5 separate regions of the Homo sapiens genome follow, and regions 2, 3, 4 and 5 are each linked to region 1. The links are contacts of gene promoters, found by promoter capture Hi-C in human tissues and cell types (Jung and others, 2019). All regions are on one chromosome and are shown on one strand. The core of a region is centred on a gene start or on the middle of the fragment in contact, and the rest is flanking DNA. Distances in the headings are between cores, read along the strand shown. Region 1 holds the start of RAB1B (RAB1B, member RAS oncogene family). Region 2 holds the start of MAP3K11 (mitogen-activated protein kinase kinase kinase 11). Region 3 overlaps LTBP3 (latent transforming growth factor beta binding protein 3). Region 4 overlaps PCNX3 (pecanex 3). Region 5 holds the start of PC (pyruvate carboxylase).

Region 1 (3,856 bases), core at 852-3,351:
TGAAAACCCACGTAGAGAGACTGATGGCTGGGTGCTGTGGCGTGTGCCTGTGGTTCCAGCTACTGGGGAGGCTGAAACAGGAGGAGGATCCTTGGAGCCTAGGAGTGTATGACCAGCCTGGGTGATGCAGCACAACCCCGTCTCTCTTTTCTTTTGTTTTTTCGAGACAGAGTCTCGCTCTCTCACCAGGCTGGAGTGCAGTGGCACGATCTCGGCTCACTGCAACGTCCGACTCCCTGGTTCAAGTGATTCTCCTGTCTCACCCTCCAGAGTGGCTGGGATTACAGGCATGCGCCACCATGACTAGCTAATTTTTGTATTTTTAGTAGAGACGGGATTTCACCATGTTGGCCAGGATGGTCTCGATCTCCTGACCTCGTGATCCACCCACCTCGGCCTCCCAAAGTCCTGGGATTACAGGCCTGAGCCACCGCACCCGGCTAACCCCATCTCTTTGGAGACAACAACAACAACAACAACAACAACAACAACAACAACAACAACAAAAACCTGTTATGAAGTCACCAGGAAGAGGTGGTCAAGTTGCAGTGAAAATTGCACTTAAGGCTGGGTGCAGTGACTGACACCTGTAATCCCAACACTTTGGAAGCCCGAGGCACGAGAATCATTTAAGCCCAGGAGTTTGAGATCAGGCTGGGAAACATATCGAGACCCTGTCTTTACAAAAAATTAAAAAATGTGCCAGGTGTGGTGGTGTGCCTCTGTATTCCCAGCTACTCAGGAGGACAAGGCAGGAGGACTGCTTCAGCCCAAGAGTTGGAGACTGCAGTGAGCCATCGTCACGCCACTGCACTCCAGCCTGGGTGACAGAGAGAGACCCTGTCTCAAAATAAAAAAAAAAAAAGGCAAAAGGTAATCACATTTAATATACTTGAGTTCCAACCTGTGGACGGACCCTGTGTGAAGTACTTTAAATGCATCATCTCATTTAATCTTCACAACAGTTCAATGAAGTCAGTTTTGTCATTGTCAACTAATGAGGAAACCAGAGGCCAGAGAAGGGAAGTGACTTGCCCTAACTTACACAGTTTATCGCTTTAAGACTCAAACCAGGTTTCTCAGACTCCAAAGTCCCTTCGAGAGCCTGCTGGTTCCCTTCTCTGTTCCCCTCCCAATCCAGCTCAGAGCTTCACCCTTCCCCAAGGAAATCTGAGACCTGGATGTGGAGTAGAAAAAGGAAGTGGCAGAAAAGGAAGAAGATAACTGATACTTGGGGAAAACTATTAGTCCTGGGCATGAGATGTGGGCCACCTACCCGCAGGGGGAGTGACCAAGAGTGAGGAGAGTTTGAGGACCAGAGAATCCCACAGGAAGGGGGAGAGCAAATTCCATATTCATCTAAACTTCACAGGCAGTGTGACAGCCAAGGGAAGGGGTGTGACGGTGGCGTTGGGGGCCTGAGCAAAAGCGAGGAGAGGGCGGGAAAGGACGGACCGGCGGGAGCGACAGGACAGCGCGACCCAGGCAAAGGGTAGGAGGCAGCCCCGGAAGAGAGGACCTGCGGGAGACGCGACCCAAGCGGCGCTTCGGGGCCTCCCGCGTAGTTGGCTAGCTTCTGGGCCGGCCCCAGGAGCCGGGCTTCAGGAGAAAGAGAAGGGTAGAGGGATTCACTGCCCGACCTAAAGGGCCCAAGCCTGAACCCGAGACCAGAAACTATCAAGACGGGCTCCAAAACTCCGGGACAGTTGTCAAGCAGCAGGTGGGGAAACTGAGGCCTGAAGTGACCGGGACTGCGGGGTCATCTGACCGATAAGGCCTGGTAGGACCGATGTCTCGAGCTCCAAGAGCTGCCCCTGGGGGTCGCCACGTCTGGGCCCCGGGTGCGAGGGCTCGGGGTTTTGAGCCGGGGTCCTGGGGCCCCTGGGGGGAGGGGCAGAACCCGGATGTGGGGGGGGGTCAGCGGAAGAGGGACCCGGATGTGGGGGCGCCGCACAGTCCTGACCCGGGCCAGACAACCCCGGTAAGCGTACAGCCCTGTATTCGGGATCGAGGCTGCGCTGGACGGCGCGGGCGGGGCTCACTCACTATTCGGGGTTCATGGCGGCGGCGGCGGCCCGCTCGGTCGCTCCCAGTCGACTCTGCTCCGCCTCCCGTTCCAAGATGGTGGCCGCTCCGCCCCAGAGGCCCCGCCCGCGACGCGCAGGCGCAAACGTCTTCTTCTCAGGCCTCGCCGCGCTGATTCCCGGAACTTGTAGTCTAAGACGTTCTCCAACTCAGCCCCGCTGCGCAGGCGTAGTCGGGGAGCCCGCGCCTCCGCGCCCACTCCCATCACTGCTGGCGCATTGCCTTCTGGGGCTTGTAGTTTGCACTCCGGACGCACTCAGGCTTGAGGACAGTGCTGGAAAGCCTGACCGCGACTCGGTGTTTAGAAAGCTCAATTTAGGGCTGGGCTTGGCACGTTTCACATCTGTCTGACGGAGGTAGTCATCCTTGCCCTCCCAATACCCACGTTGTGAACATTAAATGAGAATGTGGGTTCTAGTAAGACTAATAAAAGTACATTTGTCCAGGGTTCTTCGTGTACTGGGCAGTCCTAACTCGCAGCCGCGCGTCATCACCCGCATTTCATAGATGAAAAAACTGAGTCTCGGGAAACTCACTCAAGGTCAAAAACTTTGTGAGGAGCAGAGCTCATAAGAGCCCGCGGTCTCCAGAACCCCACAAGTGAGTGTTTTAGGGAAAGCCTGACTTGTGGGCCCCTCACGCAATTCCGGGGTGGGGCACAATATCTGGGCCCAGCTGCGCGGACAGCGGTTGAGCGAGACACACTGTCCCCCACTCACGCACGACCCTTCCCGGCTCCACCCCAGTCTAGAGACGCTGGGGGCCCCCGACCTCCGTCTCAAAACAAGCCCAGCTCAGATTTAAACCGTCTTTATTTCTACAGCAACATCTGAAAATATGAGAGCAGCCGCCTCACCCGCAACAGGGGGAGCCCCTCCTGCCACCAGGGGACCGTCGCCGCCCCTCGCGAGAAGCTGCAGGCGTGGGGGGAGGCGAGGCAGGATGGCTCGGTGGGCGGTGCCCGGGGCGGGGTCGGCCGTGCCTGGGCGGGGCCGGGTGGGAGGGGCAGTGCATAAGGCCGGGATGCGGGGCAGGGCCCGGCGGTGGGAGGACGGACTAAGGGGAGGTCCCCGTCCTGGGCCACGGGGCGATGGCGCGGGTAGGACGCATCCCTCAGAGGCCAGGAGGAGCGCGAGAAGGTCCCAGGACCCCCTTGGGAGGCGCCGCTCCCGAGAATGTAGAGCCTGGGAGATACCACCGCACGGAATGGGGGTGATTAAGGCCTGGGCGGTACCACTAGAAGAGGGACGAGGGGAGGCCCGGGTAGTACCGTGGACTGAAGGGAGGCGCGCGGCCAATAACTTATTTCTCTATATACAGAAGCAACGGCCGGGTTGAGTCGGGAGGGAGGGCGAGGGTGCCGAAGGGCCGGCGAGTGCTTAGTGTTCTTGGCTCTGGGGTCTGGGGAGGCCAGGCCACTGAGTCTATGGTGGAGACTCCAGCCGGCACCTCCTGCTGGCCCGAACCTAGGGAAGAGGGCCCTGCTGGAAGGAATAAATAAGGGATGGAGCTGGAGTGGGCAGGCCCAGCCTCCAGGGCTCAGGCTGAGATGACAAGGGAGAAGGTTACCCTGAGATTGAACAGAAAAGACAGGGGCTGTGGGAGAGACAGGCGGGACAAGCAGCAGGCCCATGCGCAGGGCTGGGGTGAGGGGGGTGTGCCAGGTGGGCGCTCTGGTGACTGGCTGCCCCTTCAGCATTAGCCCACCAGGGAGCTTCGTCGGGAGAGGTCCATGGAGCTGGAGCTGAGAGTGCGGCTGTCAGAGAGACCT
Region 2 (4,364 bases), core at 1,540-4,039, 650 kb after region 1:
GGGTGGATTGCTGTCCCCCTGGGCAGGCTCTTCCTCCAGCTCCCCCATGGTAGAGCTGCGCTTCTCCACGATCTCGCCCTGGTCAAACATGGCATGAAGCCGATAATTGACAGTCTTGATAGTAGCAAAGATGACAGCCACCACGAGGCAGTACACGCCGGCCACCATCAAGCTGGGAGGCAGGACCTGAAGATGAAAGTAAGCCAGGTCCCTTTTCACAAAGCCTCGCCCCCACAGGATGTACCTGCCATCAACATCATAGCTGGGATTCACAGACTCACAAGAAAATTTCATCACCTCTCCACACAACCAGTACACAGACCTCGACAAAGGGCTCTGTATTCTGCTTAGCTGGATGAGATTAAGTGTAGGGTTCAAGGTCACTCGATCCAAGAAAGGAAGACTTTGGCCCCTCTTCCACACAGACCCAAACTCTGCAGTGATTCCTCTCTCTCCACGTCCCAGAGCCCAGGGCACTGCCCTGAATCCCTGCCAGGCTGCCCTCCCTCTCCCGGCTGGAGTTACAGGTGGCCGTGGCGTCTCACCATGTACAGTAAGAAGGGAAAGATGAGCAGGAAGATCCAGACATAGAGGTGGAAGCAGTTGGAGAAGGTGCTCTGGTGCGGGTCGAAGAACCAACCGCCGGTGAGCGAGGCCCACACCCCCTGGCGCAGGATCTGCAACACCTGCGACCCCATGGCCCCGCCGCTGCTGCCCGCGCCCCCCCTCCCGGGACCCTCATGGGGGCGGCCCCCGGCCCATGCCCCGTCTGGCGCCTGAGGGCCCCGGGGCCCGGCCTCACGCTCACGCCATGGCCTCCCCCAGCGGGGGAGGGGGGCTCGGCCGCGCGAGGGTGCGAGCAGGGGGCGGGGCCGGCCGGGACAGTCAGTGGTGCAAGGCCCGGACGCGGGGGTGGGGCTGCATCAGGGGCGGGGTCCGGGTCCCCACTCCTGGCCCAGAATTGCTCCGAGGGGCCGAGCCGGCAGGCAGGCGCGGGGCACGGGCCGGGTACCCGTCGGCGGCATCCAGAGGTGGTCGTGGGGTGGGTGCTCCCGGGGTGCAGGCGACAGCTCCCTAGTCTCCGGACCAGGGAGAACCCCAGGATCTGGGGTCCACTTTCGGGGTCGCAGGTCACTTGCTTGGGGCTCCGCGCTCGCCCGGCTTCTGCTGGTGCCGGCCTAAGGAGGAGGCCGGAAGAAGGAGCCGCGAACCGCCAGCCTGCAGTGGCGCATGCGCCCAACGATTCCAATTGGGACCCGGAAAAGGAAAACTTGACGGCATGAATGCGCAAGCGCAGAAAGGTGATGGCGCGGTAGGACGCGAGGGGTGCCCTTTGGGCGTGCGCAGACTCCAGGACTAAAGCAAGTTCGAGCGTAAAAGCGTTTGGGCGCATGCGTAGACCCAGGCGTTGCCAACCCAGGGTAGACGACTGGGCGGAACCAAAGAGACAGTTGAGTAGCCATTGGGTAACGGCAAAGTAATTGGCGCACAGCTCTTCCAATGAGTTACAGGAGGCGGGGAAAAGGTGGAGGCGTGGACTCCCCTAGTAGCAGCGAGAGTTCTGCACTACCGAAGCACGCCCCTCTCGGCCCGCCCCCTTTAATGCTGGACCTCGTACGTCACGACCGATTTCGCTCCCAGCGGCGTCTACTTCCGGGTCAGAGCTCAGACCTAGGGTGTAGAGAACAACCTTCCGTAACAGGCAGGAATAGTCGAAATAGGATAGCGTCGTCTTTCTTAAAGTGACAGGCTCAAAGCAATTGGGGCAGCCCTATCCAGAAGTTGTGAGGGCGACTCAGCTATTCTGAATCCAATCCTGGGCAAAGTTCTGGACAAGTCTCAGGTTTCTGCCAATGGGGAAGGGATATGAAGAAGCGGATTGTTTCCCAGGTGAGGAGAAGAAGAGAGCCTTAGGCAATCCACTCCAAGAGCTTGAGGTGCAGCCAGTTCCGTCTGTCCTCCAGTCTTCCCCACCCCATCCAACTAGCTCTACGAGGCAGAGCTTTCTCGTCCTCATATCATATATGAAAAGAATGGCCGGGCGCGGTGGCTCACGCCTGTAATCCCAACACTTTGGGAGGCCGAGGCGGGAGGATCACGAGGTCAGGGGTTTGAGACCAGCATGGCCAACATGGTGAAACCCGTCTCCACTAAAAATACAAAAATTAGCCGGCCGTGGTGCCACGCGCCGGTAGTCCCAGCTACTCGGGAGGCTGAGGCAGGAGAATCTCTTGAACCCGGGAGGCGGAGGTTGCAGTGAGCTTAGACTGCGCCATTGCATACCAGCCTGGGCGACAGAGCAAGACTCCGTCTCAAAAGAAGAAAAAAGAAAGAAAATAATGAGGCTCAGAATCGATGGATCGCACAGTCCCACAACTTCGCAGCCAAGACCAGACTCGGGTTCACCCCCTTCCCAAGTGTGGTTCTGTAACCCCGTTTTGCTGCCGCCGATGCGGATGCAGAGGGCAGAGATGGCCCATCCTTAGCAGAGACCAACCTCCACCCTAGGCAGCAGAGCACGCAGCTGGGGGCTTTTCTTTCTAGATCTCAAAAGCCTGCTGTGATGGGGGATCTGGTTCTGCCCTTTCCCTCTCTGCCTCTCCTGGCCCGCCTACCCGGGAACTCCCCGCCTGGAGCCTCTGGGAGGGGAGCGGTGCAGGCCGCCCGCGTCATCTGATGCTGTTTCCTGCAGGAGGGAGAAGAGCGGAAAAAAGTGAAACTCCACCCTCCACCTCTGCCTCCCGCCCCCGGGGCCAAAGTACAAAGGGAGGAGGAAGAAGGGAGCGGGGTCGGAGCCGTCGGGGCCAAAGGAGACGGGGCCAGGAACAGGCAGTCTCGGCCCAACTGCGGACGCTCCCTCCACCCCCTGCGCAAAAAGACCCAACCGGAGTTGAGGCGCTGCCCCTGAAGGCCCCACCTTACACTTGGCGGGGGCCGGAGCCAGGCTCCCAGGACTGCTCCAGAACCGAGGGAAGCTCGGGTCCCTCCAAGCTAGCCATGGTGAGGCGCCGGAGGCCCCGGGGCCCCACCCCCCCGGCCTGACCACACTGCCCTGGGTGCCCTCCTCCAGAAGCCCGAGATGCGGGGGGCCGGGAGACAACACTCCTGGCTCCCCAGAGAGGCGTGGGTCTGGGGCTGAGGGCCAGGGCCCGGATGCCCAGGTTCCGGGACTAGGGCCTTGGCAGCCAGCGGGGGTGGGGACCACGGGCACCCAGAGAAGGTCCTCCACACATCCCAGCGCCGGCTCCCGGCCATGGAGCCCTTGAAGAGCCTCTTCCTCAAGAGCCCTCTAGGGTCATGGAATGGCAGTGGCAGCGGGGGTGGTGGGGGCGGTGGAGGAGGCCGGCCTGAGGGGTCTCCAAAGGCAGCGGGTTATGCCAACCCGGTGTGGACAGCCCTGTTCGACTACGAGCCCAGTGGGCAGGATGAGCTGGCCCTGAGGAAGGGTGACCGTGTGGAGGTGCTGTCCCGGGACGCAGCCATCTCAGGAGACGAGGGCTGGTGGGCGGGCCAGGTGGGTGGCCAGGTGGGCATCTTCCCGTCCAACTATGTGTCTCGGGGTGGCGGCCCGCCCCCCTGCGAGGTGGCCAGCTTCCAGGAGCTGCGGCTGGAGGAGGTGATCGGCATTGGAGGCTTTGGCAAGGTGTACAGGGGCAGCTGGCGAGGTGAGCTGGTGGCTGTGAAGGCAGCTCGCCAGGACCCCGATGAGGACATCAGTGTGACAGCCGAGAGCGTTCGCCAGGAGGCCCGGCTCTTCGCCATGCTGGCACACCCCAACATCATTGCCCTCAAGGCTGTGTGCCTGGAGGAGCCCAACCTGTGCCTGGTGATGGAGTATGCAGCCGGTGGGCCCCTCAGCCGAGCTCTGGCCGGGCGGCGCGTGCCTCCCCATGTGCTGGTCAACTGGGCTGTGCAGATTGCCCGTGGGATGCACTACCTGCACTGCGAGGCCCTGGTGCCCGTCATCCACCGTGATCTCAAGTCCAACAACAGTGAGTTTCTGGGGGCATGGTTGGGGGTGGCATGGCTCTGGTACACACCTGCTCCCAACCTTCCACTGAGCCTAGCTTAGGGTCTACTGCAGGTAGGAGCTCCCACCCTAGGGGGTCCCAGCTGACCAGGGGTGCCCATGGGCTCAAGCTAGCCCCCAAACAGAGCCCCAGGCACCCAGCAGAGTCTTCCTGCGCCAGCTTCAGAAGTCCTTGACCCCAGCCTGCAGCTGCGGTTTGGACAAGTTAAGAAATTGGTATCTCTCAGGTGGGCCATAAGCATCCTGCCCAGCCATGGCTCCCACCTCAAGGAAGTCCTCTGGAAGCTCGTGCTCCTCATCTTCTCCTCCCCTAAATTCATGTTCGTGGAGTTGG
Region 3 (4,296 bases), core at 1,112-3,611, 720 kb after region 1:
TCAAGTGATCTTCCAGCCTTGGCCTCCCAAAGTGCCAGGATTACAGGTGTGCGCCACCATGCTCTTTTTTTTTTTTTTTTTTTTCCCGGCCTGGGGAGTTTTCCTGTGAAAACTGGGAAACTGTGGCAGGGTGCAGTGGCTCACGGCTGTAATCTCAGCACTTTGGGAGGCTGAGGTGGGTGGATCACGAGGTCAAGAGATTGAGACCATCCTGGCCAACATAGTGAAACCCAGTCTCTACTAAAAATCCAAAAAAAAAAAAAAAAAAAAAAAAGATTAGCTGGGCGTGGTGGTGCATGCCTGTAGTCCCAGCTACTCAGGAGAATCACTTGAACCTGGGAGATAGAGGTTGCAGTGAGCCAAGATCGTGCCACTGCACTCCGGCCTGGGGACAGAGTGAGACTCCATCTCAAAAAAAAAGAAAGATGGTTAGAAATGCCAGAGACATGAGGAAGGGAGGGGCATTCAGGTTGGGAAAAGGATATCACAAGGGAAGTTAAGTTGGGCAAAGGCATGGAAGCATGAAACACTGGTGGAGGAGGGAGAACCCACACACAGGCCAGTGTCTCTGAACCAGGGGAAGTCCAGTGCACTGAGCCTTGTCAAGGAGGCTTGAGTTTAATGCCAGAGGCTATGGGCAGTGTCTGCAGGATTTTGAGCATCATAATTGCTAGCTCAGACTGAGCAGTCCCTCTGTGCCAGGTACTGTCTGAAGAGTTTTACGTTCTAAATACCATTTAACCTTCTCATACTCTGCAAAGTGAGCGTTGTTAGCCTCGTTTTCCAGATGAGAAAGCTGAGCCTCAAAGAGGTTCAGTAACCTGCCCCAGGTCACACAGCTGAGCCGTGTTCAAGCCCATGCCTGTGTGGGCTTCAAAAGCACAAGGGAACTGCCAACCCAGCTGAAACCCTGATCCTCCATGAGCTCCTAGGGTTAGGGCTCAGGTGGGAGATGGCTGTTCTTGGGGGCTTTGGGAATGTGGACAAGGCCCCTCAAAGGAGGGGCTGTTAAGGAAGCCTAAGGAGAGGTACTCCAGGCAAAGAGAACAGCCTGCAAAGCCCACTGGCCAGGTGAGTTTGGGGCAGAGCAGAGTTCACTGTTATGGCCCAGGCTGCATGGCAGGAGTGAGGGGGAAGGGGTGTGGGAAATGAAACTGGTGAGCAGTGAGGATCCAAAGGAGGGGAGAGGCTGGAGGCAGGGAGTCCTGGGCTTGGTGACAAAGAGAGTGAGGGGGGTGGTTCCTGGATCTGACTGCCTGTGCACAGCTTTGGCACTAGTTAGGATTCCCAGGAAACCAGCTCCTGCTAGTCTTGGGAGGGGGTAATCAACCCTTCTGGAATAGGGGGTCGGGTCCCTGGGGCAAGGGCTTATGGAGTCACTGGGCTAGAGGACACTGGTGTGACCGAGGCTATAGAGTTTAAGGTATTGAGGCGACTGGGGAGAAAGGAGTTTTAGTCCCTTGGGTGGGAGTACTGGGACGACTGAGGGGCCCTGAGGGGATGTGGTTTGGTTTGAGGTGAGTGGGGTCAGGGTCTTGGAGTGAACCGGGAATGGAAGTATCCGGGCCTGGGTGTGGGGTGATACGGCTGTCAGGGGCCTGGAGTCCTAGTTTGGAGCTTTCTGGGGTCTTGATATTGGGGTTATCTAAAAGAGAGAAATAGGACATCCTGGAGTTGGAGTATGGGCGTACAGGAACCTGAGGTCATGGTGTGACTGGGGTGTTGAGGTCTGCCCTGGGGATATGGCAGAAGGTGAGCGCTCCCTGCTCTGCCGCTTGACCTGGCCATGCCCGCAGAGACTGATGAGTGCCGACTGAACCAGAACATCTGTGGCCACGGAGAGTGCGTGCCGGGCCCCCCTGACTACTCCTGCCACTGCAACCCCGGCTACCGGTCACATCCCCAGCACCGCTACTGCGTGGGTGAGCGCAGGGCAGGCGGCGGGCATGCAGGTGGGTGGGGGGGGACCCCAGATAACGACGCTTCCTTTGACTTTTCTTGGCCTACCCGTTCTTCTCAGATGTGAACGAGTGCGAGGCAGAGCCCTGTGGCCCGGGGAGGGGCATCTGCATGAACACCGGCGGCTCCTACAATTGCCACTGCAACCGCGGCTACCGCCTGCACGTGGGCGCCGGGGGGCGCTCGTGCGTGGGTGAGCGCCGCCAGGGCGGAGGCGGCCCTGGGTGGGACGGGCTCTCCTCCAGACCGCCGTGTAATCCCTCCCCTTGCCCGCCGCCTCCTACACCCCCTTCGTGGCCCCTTCCTCCCGCACAGACCTGAACGAATGCGCCAAGCCCCACCTGTGCGGCGACGGCGGCTTCTGCATCAACTTTCCCGGTCACTACAAGTGCAACTGCTACCCCGGCTACCGGCTCAAAGCCTCCCGGCCTCCTGTGTGCGAAGGTGAGGGGACCCCATTCAGACCAAAGAAGGAGCTCCTTAGCTGTCTCTCCACCTGGGGTGGGGCTGGGGTGCCTGCATTTTTTTTTTTTTCCCCCGAGACGGAGTCTCACTCTGTCGCCCAGGCTGGAGTGCGGTGGTGAGATCTTGGCTCACTGCAACCTCCGCCTCCCGGGTTCAAGCGATTCTCCTGCCTCAGCCTCCCGAGTAGCTGGGATTACGGGCGCCTGCCACCACGCCTAATTTTTGTATTTTTAGTAGAGACGGGGTTTCGCCATGTTGGCCAGGCTGGTCTCGAACTCCTGACCTCAGGTGATCCACCCGCCTCGGCCTCCCAAAGTGCTGGGATTACAGCCGTGTGCCACCGCACCCGGCCTGTATGCTCGGCTCTGGGCCTCTCAGAGGTTGGGGTCCGGGAGCCTCGTTGATCTGTGTGGGAGGAAGTCCCTGCTGTGGACGCTGGGAGCCGGGCCACCCGCGTTGTCCCCAGATGGGTCCTCTTCCTTCTCCCTCCCGTGCAGACATCGACGAGTGCCGGGACCCAAGCTCTTGCCCGGATGGCAAATGCGAGAACAAGCCCGGGAGCTTCAAGTGCATCGCCTGTCAGCCTGGCTACCGCAGCCAGGGGGGCGGGGCCTGTCGCGGTGAGGGCGGGGCCCGGAGCCGAGTGGGTGGGGCCGTCAGGTGCCTCCCCCAGTCTGGCTCCGCTGGGGGCGGGGCGGGGTAGCGGTGGTGATTGGCGTCTGGGGGCGGGGCCTTCCGGGAGTAGAGGCTGCCCTCTCAACCCCGCGTTCCAGGGAAGAGACCCACACCCCCGCGAGGTGCGCGGTCCGCCTTCCGGTGGGGCAGAGTCCGAGGCTAGGTCTTTCCGCCGCAGACGTGAACGAGTGCGCCGAGGGCAGCCCCTGCTCGCCTGGCTGGTGCGAGAACCTCCCGGGCTCCTTCCGCTGCACCTGTGCCCAGGGCTACGCGCCCGCGCCCGACGGCCGCAGTTGCTTGGGTGAGCGCCAGCACCCCCGCCCCGGGCCTCCGCCGCCCCCTACGCGCTGAAGCCGGGGAGCGGGTCACGCTGTCTGTAAACAGTGGGTGGAAGGTGGCTCATTCATCCCCAGGTGACTCTGCTCACTCATTTTCTCAACGAACTTTGCCAAGGAAGGCACCACTAGAATTTCCACGTAGGAAGGGTCTCGGGGTAGAGCTCGAAGCTGCGTTTGCAAAGCATGTTACTTAAATTTGAAGGAAAAAAGATATCAAAGAATGAGGGCAGACGATAGTACTCCCCCCTGCACTCCTGTTTATTATACGCCAAGAGGCGGGGCTGGGGGCTGGGACTCATTGAAAACTGGAGAAGGAAAGACAGACTGTAGCATGCAGTGCTGGGCCTGGATGGAGCTGGGCTGCTTCCTGGAGACACAGCGGGATGGGAGGAAGGAGGCCTGGGTCATCTTAAAGAATCACTAGGAATTGGGCAAGAAAGGAGGAGAGGAACAGCATGGCAGGCACAGGGGTTGGCACTGGCAGATCAGAGGTGAGACAGAGGGTGGGGTGTTGGGGAACTGTAAGGAATGATCAGGCTATGGGGGCTGAGGCTGGCCGGGGAGGGACAGGTCCCCATCCCTTGGAGGGCCCCCTAAGTCCTGCCTGGGAGGTTGTGCTTCACCCAGAAGGTGTTAGAGGGCACCTGCAGCATTTTAAGTGTAAGAGTGACAAGATTTGCCATTTGTTTTAGAACGTTCCCTGCTGCTGATTGTGGAGGGAGGTCTGTTGCAGAGACTTAGGGCGGAGACAGTGGTGGACAGGATGAGTGGTGGGCTCAGGATGGCCATGAGACGATGATATTGGAGAAATATTAGACCTCCTGGGTTTTTTAACTGGATGTCAAGTGAAAGCGAGGGT
Region 4 (4,010 bases), core at 419-2,918, 640 kb after region 1:
GAAAAACAGGGAGGGGAGAGAGGGGTGTCGAGGACCCAGGGGTAAGGCTTCAGAGTGATCCAAGCAGAGGCCTTTCCTCACGCTGAGCCTCAGTTTCCCCATCTTGACAAAGAGGCCAATCTCTGCCCATGTCTCTCACAGAGCACTGAGGAGCAGGCAAGGTCATGACCAGGAAGTGCCCTGCCCGTGGGAGAAGAGGTACCCCAACAGGAAGGGCCACTGCAGTTTCTGTGGCCACTGTGGCCAGAGACCACAGTGCTCTTCGTGGAAGAGGTGGGGTGGGGACGGCAGTAGGCCCCGCGGGACACCCGAGCACTCACCTTGCAGACATGCTGTGAGAGGCTGTCCCCAGGGCCCGGCGGCCCAGCACACACAGGCCAAAACACAGCGTGACCAGCGGGGAGTTCCAATCCTGGTCCACGGGCTGTGGCATAAGGACCCCCATCCCAGAGCCCAGCTCAGACCTGGGACAGGGACCTTGGAGTGGGGGCTGGGGCTCAGGCTAAGGGAGGCTCAGAGTGAGAGGAAACCAAATGGGGAGAAGGGGAGCAGGGAAGCCCAGGTCCCACAGCCCCAGGTGGCAGCCTCAGGTAGTGGAGCCTGACCTGGCTGCGCCGGGAGGCGCAGTACTGGATCCACTCGAGGTGCACAGCACAAAAGGAGGGCAGCGAGAGGCCAGACAGGCGGAGGTCATAGTCCTCATCCACACTCAGCGAGAAGGTGGGATCCGAGTCGGCATAGCCGGGCACCCGCACAGGCCTCAGGGCTGCCGTGATGCCCTCATGGCTGAGCCACACCTCCAGCTTTGGTGAGCGGCTCACGTAGTAGATGATGCTCTGGGAGAGGAGGGGCAGGCGTCAGGCCGGGGTCCCGGCCCTGGCCACTGGAGGAGAAAGCATGGAGGTTCAGAGGCTCCTCCCCAAGACTGAGCTGAAGTCCGCTTTCTGGGATGCCCCGCTCCTAGAGCCATCTCAGCTCTCAAGAGCAACCAAGCAAGTTGGCTCCTTCCCCTAGACCAGGGAGGAGTGACAAAGCCGCCAGGAAGCACCCACTTACAGAGCAGGAAGTCCTGTGCTGGGGCTAGCACTCACAAGCAGCATCTGCCTGCCTCTGCCCTAGAATATGCCCCGTTTGTATGAGAAATTGAGGCTCAAACAAATGGCAGCCCCCAACGAGAACAAGATCATCACACTCAACATTTACCACCTCAGCTTCCAAGTCATCAAGGTGGAGCTGGCCCCACCTGCCCTGAACCCTGTCCCCCACCCGCCTCTGGCTGGCCCCGACACTATGGTGTGGCCCTCAGGTGAACCTTCAGTGCCTGTGCAGCACGTGGGCCAGGTAGCAGCAGGAGCTGGTGTTCCTGCACAAACATAACCCCGAGCGCGGGAGCATCCAGATGTCACATGGGCAGGGGGCGGGGAGCGAGTGGGGCAGAACAGACTGAACTGCCGCCTGAACCCCGGACCTTCCCCATCATGACATTGTGGGATCCAGATCTCGGGGCCGGAAGGGCAGGCTGAAGTAGTGGGCCTGCCTCAGAGTGCCTGGGTCACAGGTCCCTTTAGGCAGCTGAAGCATGACAGCCATCAGGCCTCGCCTCAGAAAAAAGCCACGGGCACATGTGGTACCCAAAGCTGGGGGCTCCTGGACCTCTTGTTAAAAGGCCCTGTTGGGCAAAAGTACAGGAGCTTTGGAAGACAGGTAGCTGGCATGGCCAGGATGCACGGGCGGGTTAAGGCCGGCAGGGCAGCCAGTGAGGTGATGGGGATTCCATGTGCCACCCTAAGATGGAGCTAATGGGGCAGGCCCTTTGCCAGGGCAGACCCGCTCCAGACTGACTTTCTTGCCCATAGCTCGCCTCTACAATCCAGGCACCACCAGAGCTGCTAAAAAGACCCAGAAAAGAAAAGCTTCAGCCAGACAGGGTGGCTCACACCTGTAATCCCAGAACTTCGGGAGGTGGAGGTGGGAGGATCGCTTGAACCCAGGAGTTCAAGACCAGCCTGGACAACATGGCGAAACCCCATCTCTACAAAAAATACAAAAATTAGCCAGGCATGGTGGTGCATGCCTGTAGTCCCAGCTACCTGGGAGGCTGAGGTAGGAGGATTACTTGAACCTGGGAGGTGGACACTGCAGTGAACCCAGATGGCACCACTGCACTCCAGCCTGGGTGACAGAATGAGACCTTGTTTCAAAAAAAAATAAAAAAAAGAAAAGCTTCAGGGACCGGGAGAGGAGCTGGCCTGGCACATATCAGGTGCTTGGTTAACCTTCACCAGTGCCATCCTTTTCTCTGACACAACACTCACGGTCATCTTAGGAAGAAAATGAAGACGGGGGGCAATACCAGCAGCCGCTCCGCCTGTGAGCGCTCACTGCGAGCTGGGCTCTGCCCAAGGTACTTCCCGGGAAGCACTGCCCAGACTCCGTGCAGCCTCAAGCCACGGTGCCTTTTCCTGCTCTTGTAGCCCTTCCCAGCTGCAGAAGCAGGTCTGAGAGCCCAGTAACTCCCACGGGAAGGGCAAAGCTAACGGGAGGGGCTCCGCCTCGACTGGCCAACCTCGAAGGCTGGAAAGGACCTATCCCTGCAGCTGGGACACTTCCCCAGATGCACCAGGCTCCCCAGCACACCCGCCTCCCCCCGCCCCACCCCTGGCAGCCCTGACTTGTCCTTCCAAGCTTCACCCTCAGTCCACATCCTCAGCGGAGCCACCCCAGGTCCTCCAAGCACTTCCTCCAGACTCAAATTCTGCCCAGCCTTTGAGGCAGCCTTAGATGTGGCCAGTCAGCTTCCCCATGGGACAAGAGACCTGGCCAGGTGCATCTCAACCTGCTGGCCCTAGCCTAGCAGGCACAGCAGGGCAACCTGGGCAAGGGCACCTCTCTCAAGATGGGACCGGAAGGTGGACCAGGCCATGACCTCTCGGTGACCTGGGACTGGGAATGTCCCTCTCTAGACACAGCCTCCTTCTTGATGAAAGGGGGGTGGTCTCACAAATCCTTGCCTAGGAGTGGCTGGGAGGGCAGAAGGAATGACAAATGACAGCTCCTCTGATATGTGGTGTGGACAGGATTTCCTTTGGAGAAGGACAGCCAGGGCCTCGTGAAACTACTCCAGAGAGAACCTAGGTGGCAGGCTCACCTGGGCCCCAGTAGGCCACCCACCGAGCCCAACATAGGGAGCACCAGGGTAGATCCTAAGAAGGCACGTGGGAGCCTGCACTGTGATCAGCAGGCCACCCCACTCCCAGTACGCTTATTCTGAGCACCACAAGCCTCAAAATTCCTTTTTTTTTTTTGAGACAGTCTTGCTCTGTTGCCCAGGCTGGAGTGCAGTAGCACGATCTCGGCTGGCTGCAACCTCTGCCTCCCAGGTTCAAGTGATTCTCCTGTCTCAGCGTCCCAAGTAGCTGGGACTACAGGTGCCCGCCATCACACCCGGCTAATTATTTTGTATTTTTAGTAGAGATGGGGTTTCGCCACATTGGCCAGGCTAGTCTCAAACTCTTGACCTCAAGTGATCCACCTGCCTTGGCCTCCCAAAGTGCTGGGATTACAGGCATGAGCCACCACGCTTGGCCAAGCCTCAACATTTCTGCCATCTCAGAGAACTGCAATAACCCCCACTTCTCAAGGGGTAAGCTGAGGGACACAGGGAAGAAACATTCCAGGCTGATCAGAACCCCCATTCCAGGGCTCCTTATGTACCCCACATTGCCTCACCAACCCCCTCCCACCCCCAAGAGGTCTCAAGATCCTCAGGCCTGGCTCAGAGCCCCCAGGCTAAGGCAGGAAAGCTCTGTGGCTCAGGGCCAGCCTGGGTTCAAGGCCTGGCTTGGCCATTTTCTTCAGATTCTGGAACCTCTGCAAGCCAACTTCCACATCTGTGAGATAGCAGGGCCCCTCTCAAAGGGTGGGGGACTCCACCCAGCTCAGGAGAGATGCCCAGCATAGCGCCCACCCGTGGTAAATGTTACTGCTCAAGCAGCTGCTCCCATGATGAT
Region 5 (3,838 bases), core at 147-2,646, 690 kb before region 1:
TCATGCGAAAGTGAAGATTAAGCCTTGAAGCTGAGTCACTGCAACACCCTCTTCCAAAAGAATAGCTGTTACTAGCATTAGGCATCAGCCATATCCACACGGAAAGGTAAAAACCTCAGGCATTTGGGAAGGGCTGCCCCCACAGATCATTCACAAGTAAATTCTTGCTGGCCTCCCATAAACAAGGACAGGTCAATTGTAGCTTCAGGTCTACAATCTAAGTCTAGCTCCTAAAAATTCCACAATAAGAATGTCATTACAAGCTTATTTTCCCAGGTGCAGAACAAAGTCAAAACTACCTACTCAGAGACATCTGCATAACTGACTCTTCCTTTACTCTCTTTTTCTCTTCAGACATTCATCTCATCTTACGTAGATTTACCGGGCATTAGCTAAAGTCCCATAGGAATGTAACTATTGTCCTAATCGCCTACTTGCCCTTCTTCCTACATGCCTTCCCCTCATTCCCCCTTTAAGGAAATGCATAAATACTAAACCTCCCGAAAACCTCTTCGGAAAAACAACCACGGATGTGTCTGTGGTTCGTGTTTTTCCCGAGCACGCCCTCAAACTGGATTAATAAGCCTCGATGACAGAGACTTATGCCTCAGTCACTTGTTCCACTTGTCAAAGCTTTCCTCTTTGACAAGTGTCTTGGGTCTTGTCAAGTGTCTTGTGTCTCAAACAAGGCTTCCAAACCCCCTAGGTCCTGAGTAGCTTCGCTCTGCAGATGACAAAACCGAGACTCAGAGGTTAAGTTGCTTGCCCAAGGTCACACAGACGTACTGTAGACCCCCATCATCATCTACGCAGCTGTTAAAGGACATAGTCATGTAACCCGTGTGGCACAAGCGCCTTCTCCTTCCTCCTGCCCTTCGCTAACGTTAGCTTTTCCTGCGACCTCTTCTCCGCTAGCCAGCGCGTATCTGCGTCTAGCCGGGATGCCTGAGCCCCAGTGCGAACTGTTGTGCTTGCAGCTTCGGGAGACACGTGCTACTCGGGTGAATGAATCGAACGTCCCCACCCCCGCCGACAGCCAATAACTGCGAGCCACAGCCCGGCCACTTCCGCCTATTGCGGGCGTCGGCTAGGGTCCGGCGGCCCACGTGAGGCTCCGGAGACAAGGGAGTAGGCGGTGGTGCGCCAGGGGCGGGCTCTCCCAGCCTCGCCACTTATCCAGGCGCTCGCCGGGGACGGGAGGGGCGGGGCTGACGTGGGGCGCCAAGGCTTAAACGTGACGGACAGGCGGGCACAGGGAGGAGTCCAGAGCCTAGGGGCGAGGAGTGACGGAGAACACTGCCCAATAACGGGAGGGGTTGGGCTGTCTGGGCCAATAGGAAGTCCGTAAGGCGGGGCCGGGACTGCAGCAAGTTCGGTTGCACGGAGACCGCAGCTGTTCTCTGTCAGTGGAGGCAGCAGCGGTAGAGGCGGCGGCGAGGACTGGCGACGGCGAGGAGGTGAGTGTCCGCCGCGCTCCGCACGGTCCTCTTCCCGCGGCGGGTCGGAGCGGGTGGACGTGCGCCGGCACCGCTGCGAGGGACGCTTATGTAAGGGTCGCGCGCGCAAAGGCGGCGCGGGCTCCGCGAGTGACGGCTGGAGGAGACAGCGACGGGCTGTGCGCGGTGCGCGACGCGACGCAGCGGACGGCGCCCCTCCCCCTCGCGCGGGGGCTCGGCCGGCTGGACCCGCCCCCGGACCCGCCCCCGGCTGCAGCCCCCGAGCGCCCCTCCGCAGCGTCCGCCTGCGGGCTGCCTCATTCTTGCTCTCGGGCCCATTTTGCAGATGGAGAAACTGACTAAAGCGCCTCGCGCGAGGTCCCTGAGGGTTCGAACCCAAGTCTGTCAGGATCGGGAGCCCAAGTTGTCCCCATCGTACTGGATGTGGCTCAGCTCTGCAGGAAGCCGCGGCGTGTAAGGCGAGGGCTTTCCTTGTTCCTTGCTCTCGCACTCCGCCTCCCGTAGGATCCTCTACTTTGTTTCAGACGGGGAAGCTCCAGGCGCCCAGACGCAGTGATTCGCCCAAGGCCGCTCATTCAGGAGGTGGGGCTGGGCTCAGCCCCTTATTTCTCCAGCTTTTAGTAGTTTACAAAGCGCATCAGAGTCGGAAGCCAAGTCCCTAGGTCCCTGGCAACTTTGAGATTCTTTTGTTTTCTTTTCTTTTTTAGACAGGGTCTTGCTGTCACCCACCCAGGCTGGAGTGCAGTGGCGCGATCTCGGCTCACTGCAGTCTCGACCTCCCGGGCTCAAGCGACCCTCCTGCCACAGTCCCCCAGTGCTGGGACTACAGGCGGGCGCCACCACGCCTAGCTAATTTTTGTATTTTTTGGTAGAGACGAGGTTCCGTCATGTTGCCCAGGCTGGTCTCGAACTCCTACGCTCAAGCGAGCGGCCTGCCCTGGCTTCCCAAAGTGCTGAGATTACAGGCGTGCCTCGTCTGAAATTCTAAAAAATCAGATTGTGTCTTTATTTTGTGAGAAGAGGTAGGCCTGGGCTCCTTACCCGTTCTCCAGCTGAGAAAACAGGCTCAGAGAAGTACCAACACTTGCTGATGACAACCAGAACCTCCAGAGTGCCTGCCATCTGCCTCCCTATTGCTCCCGTACCCACTGCCACCATCAGCCCTGGCTGGCCTCCCCCAAGGCACCCTTTCCCTGTATGTGATGCAAACACTTGTGCTGGGGGTGGATGTGCTCAGCATTTCTCTCACTTGCAGCTACAGCTTCCTGCCTGCAGGCTCTCCTTAACTGTTGAACTCTTAATCACATTCTTTTGCACACCTACAGTGTTCCTATCCCTACACTGGGCCGAGAGACAGCGTGGGCGATGAGGTCAATCCTTGTCCTGCAACTGCTGACAAACCCATTGGGGGAGAGAGAAAATAAACAAAACCTAAGCAGCAAGGCAGCCTGCTGCAGATGTTTGTAGAGAGCCTAGTGGGTGAGGTATTGGCCCTAGGAGGACATGGAAGAGGAAGTTCAGTAGAGGCCAGTAAATCACAGCAAACCACACACTAAAGCGAGAGAGAGGAGAAATGGCCTGGAAGGGGATGGGCTTGGGAAGGCTTCGTGGAGGAGGTGAGTTGTGGACCTCTTTTTGATGCCGCTGCAGTGGAGAAACAGTGATTGGATTTCAGCAGCTAGAAAGTTTTATTCTGGAGAGGTTTTGTTAAAGAGGTTTTTTTGTTTTTGTTTTTTGAGATGGAGTTTCGCTCTTGTCGCCCAGGCTGGAGTGCAGCGGTGTGATCTCAGCTCACCACAACCTCCGCCTCCCGAGTTCAAGCGATTCTCCTGCCTCAGCATCCTGAGTAGCTGGGATTACAGGCGCATGCCACCACACCTGGCTATTTTTTGTATTTTTAGTAGAGATGGGGTTTCACCATGTTGGCCAGGCTGGTCTTGAACTCCTGACCTCAGGTGATCCGCCCACCTCGACCTCCCAAAGTGCTGGGATTATAGGCATGAGCCATCATGCCTGGCCAGTTACAGAGGTTTCAAGCAATTAGAACTGGAAGAGGAAGGCTGAGGAAGGTGGAAGGAGAATGTGGGGGAAACAGCTTCACTGTTGGGTGTAAGAAACTTGATTGGTCACTGGGAAGAGGCCTCTACAGGAGATGTAACCAGGTGAGGGCACTAGGATTTGCTAAGGTGCAGGTAAGTCAGTGACTGGAAACCAAACTGAGGAAGCAAGATTAGATGCAAAGGTAGACGGGGCTGGGCGCGGTGCTCATGCCTGTAATCCCAGCACTTTGGGAGGCCGAGGCGGGTGGATCACCTGAGGTCAGGAGTTCGAGACCAGCCTGGCCAACATGGTGAAACCCCTTCTCTGCTAAAAATACAAAA

Evidence for each region. The method cuts DNA at HindIII sites, captures the fragments that hold promoters and counts their contacts. A contact is called where the count stands out against the background at its distance.
Region 2: the fragment with the promoter of MAP3K11 here is called in contact with the fragment with the promoter of RAB1B in region 1 in 1 of the 25 tissues and cell types used here (dorsolateral prefrontal cortex).
Region 3: a contact is called between a fragment that was not itself captured here and the fragment with the promoter of RAB1B in region 1, in 1 of the 25 tissues and cell types used here (mesenchymal stem cells).
Region 4: a contact is called between a fragment that was not itself captured here and the fragment with the promoter of RAB1B in region 1, in 1 of the 25 tissues and cell types used here (dorsolateral prefrontal cortex).
Region 5: the fragment with the promoter of PC here is called in contact with the fragment with the promoter of RAB1B in region 1 in 1 of the 25 tissues and cell types used here (dorsolateral prefrontal cortex).

What each region holds. Positions count from the first base shown.
Region 1 is chr11:66,266,884-66,270,739 of GRCh38, reverse strand. It overlaps RAB1B (RAB1B, member RAS oncogene family), which reads right to left and starts at 2,101. Exons shown (of 6, transcript NM_030981.3): 1 at 2,047-2,101. The coding sequence starts at 2,060. KLC2 (kinesin light chain 2) reads right to left here. Exons shown (of 16, transcript NM_001318734.2): 16 at 2,880-3,856. The coding sequence ends at 3,784. KLC2-AS2 (KLC2 antisense RNA 2) reads left to right here and starts at 2,329. Exons shown (of 3, transcript NR_186342.1): 1 at 2,329-2,441; 2 at 2,532-2,685; 3 at 2,909-3,191. RefSeq lists enhancers at 1,001-1,882, 2,043-2,372, 2,493-2,542, 2,843-2,892, 3,649-3,856 and silencers at 3,003-3,322, 3,343-3,392. The HindIII fragment of the contact is 7,867 bases long and covers 1-3,856 here.
Region 2 is chr11:65,612,646-65,617,009 of GRCh38, reverse strand. It overlaps MAP3K11 (mitogen-activated protein kinase kinase kinase 11), which reads left to right and starts at 2,789. Exons shown (of 10, transcript NM_002419.4): 1 at 2,789-3,992. The coding sequence starts at 3,254. PCNX3 (pecanex 3) reads right to left here and starts at 1,234. Exons shown (of 35, transcript NM_032223.4): 1 at 546-1,234; 2 at 1-186. The coding sequence starts at 698. RefSeq lists silencers at 740-989, 3,000-3,179 and enhancers at 1,610-1,699, 1,760-1,809, 1,692-2,578, 2,320-2,749, 3,467-4,354 and 2 more. The HindIII fragment of the contact is 27,885 bases long and covers 1-4,364 here.
Region 3 is chr11:65,545,546-65,549,841 of GRCh38, reverse strand. LTBP3 (latent transforming growth factor beta binding protein 3) reads left to right here. Exons shown (of 28, transcript NM_001130144.3): 12 at 1,797-1,922; 13 at 2,021-2,152; 14 at 2,275-2,403; 15 at 2,922-3,044; 16 at 3,278-3,400. Among named protein-coding and RNA genes, the nearest start is that of LTBP3, 11 kb to the left of the region's middle. RefSeq lists silencers at 2,072-2,251, 2,752-2,821, 2,952-3,251, 3,262-3,531. The HindIII fragment of the contact is 7,062 bases long and covers 1-4,296 here.
Region 4 is chr11:65,630,952-65,634,961 of GRCh38, reverse strand. PCNX3 (pecanex 3) reads right to left here. Exons shown (of 35, transcript NM_032223.4): 28 at 606-836; 29 at 321-424. Among named protein-coding and RNA genes, the nearest start is that of MIR4690, 3.4 kb to the left of the region's middle. The HindIII fragment of the contact is 1,572 bases long and covers 883-2,454 here.
Region 5 is chr11:66,955,941-66,959,778 of GRCh38, reverse strand. It overlaps PC (pyruvate carboxylase), which reads left to right and starts at 1,396. Exons shown (of 23, transcript NM_001040716.2): 1 at 1,396-1,457. RefSeq lists silencers at 959-1,318, 1,639-1,738 and enhancers at 1,389-1,438, 2,602-2,981. The HindIII fragment of the contact is 6,851 bases long and covers 449-3,838 here.